Regions from separate parts of the Homo sapiens genome. Here regions 2 and 3 are each linked to region 1. The links are contacts of gene promoters, found by promoter capture Hi-C in blood cells and fetal thymus (Javierre and others, 2016). All regions are on one chromosome and are shown on one strand. The core of a region is centred on a gene start or on the middle of the fragment in contact, and the rest is flanking DNA. Distances in the headings are between cores, read along the strand shown.

Region 1 (2,632 bases), core at 78-2,577:
CTTCCCCCTGGGTACTATTCCCACTACCCCCAGTAAACAGCCACCCCTTGGCCAAAAGTTGGCAAATAAAGTGGGGAAATTCAAGACCTCAAGATGCCCTAAAGGTTAGCTTGAAAAGGGTAAAATAAAACACAGAACGCTTCTCTTTAATAGACTCACACAGTCTTATGAAAATGTACGTTTTATCAAGTTTGCATCCACCTCTGCAGTTAGGTAGATTACAAGTGAAAGTTTCCACGGTTCCTTCATCCACTACTTCATGGCTCATTCATAACAATGACACTGTGATCTCACTCCATACCTCTGCTTGTCGATAATCCTGAAGTTTGGCAAACTCATCTGCAAAGTTCATCAGGCCCAGCTTTAAATGCGGGGTCTCTGTAGCAGCATACGCGTTAATTTCATTCACCAGGAGGTCTGCTTTGTCTCTCAGCCTGGCAGTTTTCCGCACATAGGCAGCGAAGATTTGGCACAGTTCTCCAAAATGCTTCTCCACATTTGAGACAGCTGTTTGCAGTTGTTTCGTTTGAGCGTTCCTAGGGAAAAGGTGACACAAAAGGCAAAACATTCTCGTTAGAGATGAGAAGGCTTCACGTTAATTTAACATGCAAACATTCCCCGGGCATTCTGCAGCTTTGAAGGCGTAAACCCATCAACGACCCAGCGTCTCCCGGCGCGGACTGCTCTCCATGGGGTCCTGACCTCACTATCCGGACTGTGTAGGCACAGGAAAAGGCCCAGGCCGGGTGGGCCTGGCCTTAACTGGGGAGGTGGCTGCTCCGGCTGCTCCGCGCAGCGCGGCCTGGGCGCCCGGCTGCCTCCTAGGCTTCCGCACTGCCCGCGGCAGTGTGGGGACCCGAGACCCGGTGGCGTGGGTGGGTGGCAGCCGGCCGGGCCCCGGGCTCCTCTTCGCCGCCGGCGGTGGCTGCAGCCCAAGGAATTAGGCCCCAGGTCACAGCGGGGACCGTGCAGCCTCCCACTCAGGGTCGGAATTCGGCGCAGAGGCCCCATGGACAGAGGCTTCCACTTCCCTCACCCCAGCCCTCCAGTGTGGGCGGCCCTGGGCAGCTGGGCTCGGGCTGTTACCGGTTTTCCAGGGTGCGCCTCATCATGCTGCCTCGCGCACGGCCGGGGACCTTGCGGGGGCCCAAGGACGGGGATTCCAAGGCGCCTGGGCGCGCGCTGGGGCGCAAGCAGCCGCCGGGAGCCTGAAAGCCCGCCCCTCGCGCCGCCGCGGCAGGCCGGGCGTTTCTATGGAAACGGGGCGCGCGCCCCCGCGGTCAATGCCCGAGGCAGCCTGAGCGCGGCTGGGGCTCGGAAAGCGCCAAGCAGGCAGGGACCGAGAGGGGTGATGGCGCGCCCACCCCTGCAGAGCCGCCTGCGCGGTTGTCCCGCGCGTCCCTGCCGGCGAAGGCTGTGAGAAGCACCGCGGGGCTACGGCGCCTCCATCCTCTCTAACAGCCGCGCTTACCAGACAGCCAGCCTCCAGCGCTGCTAGGCTACTCCGAGCAGGGGAGAAAAGACGCCGGTCCGCCGGGGACCAGGAGGGAGACGTGAAACCAGAGGCCCGGGGGCCCCCTCTCCGCCTGTGCGACTTGTAGTCTCGTACCAGACGCGTCCGCTTCACTGCTGAATCTGAAAACGTGGGCTCTTGAGAGCTGCCCTTGGAAGGAGCTGTGCTTTCTGCCTCATCTTTAACTTTTCGTTTATTCAGCAAATATGTATCAAGTTCCGACTTCGTGGAAGAGATTGTGTTAGACACTGGGAGTAATAGAAACATAATTAAGAAGCAGGGGTCCCGGACCTGAAGGGCCTGAGCGTCGGGTAAGGAGGCAACGCTTACACCGAACCTGTGCTGAGATAAATAACGAACAGTTCTGGCTCTTAGAGTTGGCCTGGGGGAACAAAAATTCAAAAAGAATAAAACCCCAAACAAACAGGAGGCTCTCCTTTGTCCTTTGAACGCCTCTGTCCCTTTGACCCTCCTGGCCTTGCGTGTGCTGCTTTTCCCAGTAAATACTGCAAGGACTCTATTCAGACTTTGTTTATTTATATATGTATTTTAGATGGAGTCTCGCTCTGTTGCCCAGGCTGGAGTGTAGTGGCACAATCTCGGCTCACTGCAACCTCCGCCTCCTGGGTTCAAGCGATTCTCCTGCCTCAGGCTCTCAAATAGCTGGGATTACAGGCGTGCACCACTATGCTGGCCTGATTTTTTGTATTTTTAGTAGAGACGGGGTTTCGCCATGTTGGCCAGGCTGGTCTTGAACTCTTGGCCTCAAGTGATCCGCCCCCCTTCAGCCTCCCAAAGTGCTGGGATTCCAGGCGTGAGCCACCGGGCCCGGCCTCAATTCAGACTTTATCTGCTTCAAGAAACCTCTCTGGGATCCTCCGTCACTTCACTTTTTCAGGCAGCGTTAGGGCCTTGTCCTAACGCTTTGGGACGGGGTCCTAATACTGTCTGAAGGAGCGAAGTGTTGGAATGCTCAAACAGTACACTTCGTTGATTTTGTACTGCCTCCTGTACCCTAGACTTTGAACCCTTTGAGACAGATTAAATGTGATTTTGGTCTTGTATTCCTCGCTGCCGTGTGCTGCTGATTAAAAGTTTTTATTTTGTACAAATAGATGT
Region 2 (2,632 bases), core at 91-2,590, 290 kb before region 1:
GAGAGCTACCAAGTGTGAAAAGCAGAGACCCCCCTTCTCAGGGAGCTTACCTGCTGTGCAACCACCTTTTAAGGATGTAAATCTAATCTTGCCCATCAGGTTTAGAACCCTCCAGTGGCTTTCCATTGCTCTTGGGATACAGATCAAAATCTATCAGGCACCTTCTCTAAGGCCCTGCCACCTCTCCTCTGAGTTGCATGCATGCCCCCACTGTTTGCATCTCTCCAACCTTTCATCAGCTGCTTGCATGGGCCAGATCAGGCTCTCAGTTTTATGTTCTGACAGCATAATCTTCTTTTCATTCAGAGTCCTTATTGTAATTCACAGATGCATGCTTGTGTGGTGATGGATTAGTGTTGATCCCCCCACTGGACCGTCAATTGCAAGAGTGTTGGGAGAGGGTTAGAGATAAGACAGAAATGTCAGCTGAAGTCAGATTGGAAAGAATTGCTGATGTGCCAGACTGAAGCTTGGAGGACTCAGGAATGAATGGTTTTTAGCAAGGAAGTAAGGTAATCAGAACCGTGCTTTAGGAACAGAGTTGAGCCTAACAGCAGTAAGTGAGGCAGCATGGAGAAAGAGCAGGGCCCCTTTAGGGGGCCATTGCTGTAGTCTGAATAAGAGGCATGAGAGGTTGCACAAGGGTGATGGGAAAGAGAAGGGGAAGAGAGATTCTGAAGATTAGGCCAAGTCAACAACTTGCTTAAATGTGGAAACTGTGGGATAAGCAGGGTCCAAAAAGATTCCAAGTTTTCTAATCAGGGTGTCTGAGAGCTTAAGTGACTTACTGATTCAAAGTAAGAGGAAGGAGGCCCTTTGAAGAGAGGATGGAATCAGTTCTGTAAGCATTCAGCTGGAGGTATGAAGGGACACAGTGGAGAGGCCTGCTGAATGCTGGATATATGGGAAGGGAGGGCAGAAGAAGGGTCCTGGCTGGTAAAGAAGATGTGGGTACCATGTGCATTGATATGATACTCATTAAGGGGATGAGGGGAAGGAAGAGAGGGCAAGACAAAAAGGAGGAAAAGAAGCTGGAAAGTAAGAAGGGCATACAGATTTATAATCCTTTGGGTATATAGCCAGTAATGGGATGGCTGGGTCAAATGGTATTTATTGCGGCACTATTCACAATAGCAAAGACTTGGAAGCAACCCAAATGTCCAACAATGATAGACTGGATTAAGAAAATGTGGCACATATACACCATGGAATACTATGCAGCCATAAAAAATGATGAGTTCATGTCGTTTGTAGGGACATGGATGAAGCTGGAAGCCATCATTCTCAGCAAACTATCGCAAGGACAAAAAACCAAACACCGCATGTTCTCACTCATAGGTGGGAATTGAACAATGAGAACACATAGATACAGGAAGGGGAACATCACACACCGGGGACTGTTGTGGAGTCGGGGGAGGGGGGAGGGATAGCATTAGGAGATATACCTAATGCTAAATGACGAGTTAATGGGTGCAGCACACCAACATGGCACATGTATACATATGTAACAAACCTGCACGTTGTGCACATGTACCCTAAAACTTAAAGTATAATAATAATAAAAAATAATAATAAAATAAAATAAAAAAAAAGAAGAGCACACAGAGAGAATAGAATTGGGGAAGCCAGGGAGGCAGGGTTTCAAGCAGAAATCCATGATTGTCCTGTGAAGAGCTCAGCCAAGAGCTGGAAGAGGATGAAGCCTGAGCAAAGCCGACCAAGGTCACCAGCTATGGGAAAACTGTGGCAGCAGATTTAGGGAGGACGGTTCGGAGGGTAAAAGCCAAATTGCAGGGATTTTATTAAGACTCGAGGTCATCAGAGATGCTACTGCCCTCTGCTGCTGGACTTGATGTAATTAAACAAGGTAAATCACAGTATTTACTGAGTCCTTGCCATGAACCAGATGCTTCATGCTATTTATTTTTCATCAGTCTTATGAAGAAAATACCTCATTTTAGTATTGATTCCTATATAATTTACAGTTAAAATGGAGCTCAGGGAAGTACTATAACTTGCCTGAGGACATACAGTGAGTAAAGTCATGAGACTGGAAGCTCCACAAGGGCAGGAAGCACAAGTTTTGTTCACCATCATCCATGCCTCACTCACAATGCCTGGCACACAGAATGGATTTTTTTAAATAAATGAAGAAATGAATGGAGTCCAGTGTCATAATCAGGTCTGTGACTTCAAAGCCCATAAGCTTTCCAGGCATATGATGCTGCTTCTCATCCACACTTATTCCAATAGAAGACATTGTCCTGGTGCCAATTTCTTCAGAAACAAGATTTAAGATGTTGACTTTGTGAGAAGTGTTGTTTCTAAATTAAAATATGTGATTATATCTTAGCTTTGCCAATTACCCTGTTGATAAATCAATCAAACAATCAAGTCAGTCAAGGCTAAATTCATCTTTAAGGCAGTTTTGCTTTCTAGATCATGTTTATGTCAAAACTCACAAGCAGCTAAGTATGCATAAAATTTAAGAAACATATTTTAGGAATCAATCAATAAAATATGTGATTATATCTTAGCTTTGCCAATTACCCTGTTGATAAATCAATCAAACAATCAAGTCAGTCAAGGCTAAATTCATCTTTAAGGCAGTTTTACTTTCTAGATCATGTTT
Region 3 (2,632 bases), core at 44-2,543, 270 kb before region 1:
GGAGGTGGGGGGCACCTCTGCCCAGCCACCCCATCTGGGAAGTGAGGAGCCCCTCTGCCTGGCCGCCACCCCGTCTGGGAGGTGTACCCAACAGCTCATTGAGAACGGGCCATGATGACGATGGCAGTTTTGTCGAATAGAAAAGGGGGAAATGTGGGGAAAAGAAAGAGAGATCAGATTGTTACTGTGTCTGTGTAGAAAGAAGTAGACATGGGAGACTCCATTTTGTTCTGTACTAAGAAAAATTCTTCTGCCTTGGGATGCTGTTAATCTATAACCTTACCCCCAACCCCCTGCTCTCTGAAACATGTGCTGTGTCCACTCAGGGTTAAATGGATTAAGGGCGGTGCAAGATGTGCTTTGTTAAACAGATGCTTGAAGGCAAAAAAAAAAAGCAAAAATGGAAAATTATCCAAATGCCCATTAATCAAGACTGGATAAATAAATGGTAGGATATTCACCCAATGGAATACTATATGGCAATGAAAATAAATGATCTGCTTTAACAAAGTTGACAAGCAATGGGGAAAGGCCTTTCTATTCAATAAATTGTGCTGGCATAACTGGCTAGCCAAACATAGAGGAATGAAACTGGACCCCTACCTTTCACCATATACAAAAATTAACCCGAGATAGATTAAAGACTTAAATGTAAGACATAAAACTAGAGATCTGTTCCAAGATGGCCGAATAGGAACAGCTCCAGTCTGCAGCTCCCAGTGTGATCAACACAGAAGACGGGTGATATCTGCATTTCCAACTGAGGTACCTGGTTCATCTCACTGGGACAAGTTGGACAGTAGGTGCAACCCACGGAGGGTGAGCTGAAGCAGGGCAGGGCTTCACCTCATCTGGGAAGCACAAGGGGTTAGGGGACTTTCCTTTCCTATCCAAGGGAAGCTGTGACAGACTGTACCTGGAAAAATGGGACACTCCCACCTAAATACTGCACTTTTCCCAAGGTCTTAACAACTGGCAGACAAGGAGATTCTCTCCCATGTCTGCCTGAGTGGGTCCCACACCCACAGAGCCTTGCTCACTGCTAGCACAGCAGTCTGAGATTGACCTGCAAGGCACGAGCTGGTGGGAGGAGGGGCGTCCACCATTGCTGAGGCTTGAGTATGTAAACAAAGCAGCCAGGAAGCTTGAACAGGGCGGAGCCCACCGCAGATCAGCAAGGCCTACTGCATCTAGACTCCATCTCAGTGGGCAGGGCTTAGCTGTACAAAAGGCAGCAGACAACTTCTACAGACTTAAACGTCCCTGTCTGACAGCTCTGAAGAGAGCAGTGGTTCTCCCAACATGGCATTTGAGTTCTGAGAATGGAGAGACTGCCTCCTTAAGTGGGTCTCTGACCCCCATGTAGCCTAACTGGGAGACACCTCCCAGTAGGGGCCGACAGACACCTCATATAGGCAGGTGCCCCTCTGGGACGAAGCTTCCAGAGGAAGGATCAGGCAGCAGTATTTGCTGTTCTGCAATATTTGCTGTTCTGCAGCCTCTGCTGGTGATACTCAGGCAAACAGGTTCTGGAGTGGACCTCCAGCAAACTCCAACAGACCTGCAGCTGAGGGACACGACTATTCAAAGGAAAACTAACAAACAGAGAGGAATAGCATCAACATCAACAAAAAGGACATCTACACCAAAACCCCACCTGTAGGTCACCAACATCAAAGACCAAAGGTAGACAAAAACAAAAAGATGGGAAGAAACCAGAGCAGAAAAGCCGAAAATTGTAAAAATCAGAGCACCTCCTCTCCTCCAAAGGATTGCAGCTCCTTGCCAGCAACAAAACAAAGCTGGATGGAGAATGACTTTGATGAGTTGACAGAAGTAGGCTTCAGAAGGTCAGTAGTAATAAACTTCTCCGAGCTAAAGGAGCATGTTTGAACCCATAGCAAGGAAGCTAAAAACCTTGAAAAAAGGTTAGATGAATGGCTAACTAGAATAAACAGTGTAGAGAAGACCTTAAATGACCTGATGGAGCTGAAAACCATGGCACGAGAACTTCGTGATGCATGCACAAGCTTCAATAGCTGATTCGGTCAAGTGGAAGAAAGGGTATCAGTGACTGAAGATCAAATTAATGAAATAAAGCAAAAAGACAAGGTTAGAGAAAAAAGAGTAAAAAGAAATGAACAAAGCCTCCAAGAAATATGGGACTATGTGAAAAGACCAAATCTACATTTGATTGGTGTACCTGAAAGTGATGGGGAAAATGGAACCAAGTTGGGAAACACTCTTTAGGATATTATCCAGGATAACTTCCCCAACCTAGAAAGGCAGGCCAACATTCAAATTCAGGAAATACAGAGAACACCACTAAGATATTCCTCAAGAAATTGTCAGATTCACCAAGGTTGAAATGAAGGAAAAAATGTTAAGGGCAGCCAGAGAGAAAGGTCGAGTTACCTACAAAGGGAAGCCCATCAGACTAACAGTGGATCTCTCTACAGAAACCCTACAAGCCAGAAGACAGTGGGGGCCAATATTCAACATTCTTAAAGAAAAGAATTTTCAACCCAGAATTTCATATCTAGCCAAACTGAGCTTCATAAGTGAAGGAGAAATAAAATCCTTTACAGACAAGCAAATGCTGAGAGATTTTGTCACCACCAGGCCTGCCTTA

The links. The method cuts DNA at HindIII sites, captures the fragments that hold promoters and counts their contacts. A CHiCAGO score of 5 or more calls a contact.
Region 2: a contact is called between a fragment that was not itself captured here and the fragment with the promoter of CIBAR1-DT in region 1, in 1 of 17 cell types (endothelial precursors). The highest score is 5.5, in endothelial precursors.
Region 3: a contact is called between a fragment that was not itself captured here and the fragment with the promoter of CIBAR1-DT in region 1, in 4 of 17 cell types (megakaryocytes, total CD8 T cells, naive B cells and 1 more). The highest score is 7.6, in megakaryocytes.

What each region holds. Positions count from the first base shown.
Region 1 is chr8:93,699,128-93,701,759 of GRCh38, reverse strand. It overlaps CIBAR1-DT (CIBAR1 divergent transcript), which reads left to right and starts at 1,327. Exons shown (of 11, transcript NR_033858.1): 1 at 1,327-1,824. CIBAR1 (CBY1 interacting BAR domain containing 1) reads right to left here and starts at 1,210. Exons shown (of 9, transcript NM_145269.5): 1 at 1,087-1,210; 2 at 302-536. The coding sequence starts at 1,112. RefSeq lists silencers at 862-981, 1,172-1,311, 1,342-1,391 and enhancers at 958-1,582, 1,612-1,691. The HindIII fragment of the contact is 5,458 bases long and covers 1-2,632 here.
Region 2 is chr8:93,994,058-93,996,689 of GRCh38, reverse strand. No RefSeq gene overlaps it. Among named protein-coding and RNA genes, the nearest start is that of PDP1, 78 kb to the right of the region's middle. The HindIII fragment of the contact is 1,737 bases long and covers 472-2,208 here.
Region 3 is chr8:93,968,009-93,970,640 of GRCh38, reverse strand. No RefSeq gene overlaps it. Among named protein-coding and RNA genes, the nearest start is that of PDP1, 52 kb to the right of the region's middle. RefSeq lists an enhancer at 1-474 and a silencer at 1,102-1,171. The HindIII fragment of the contact is 294 bases long and covers 1,147-1,440 here.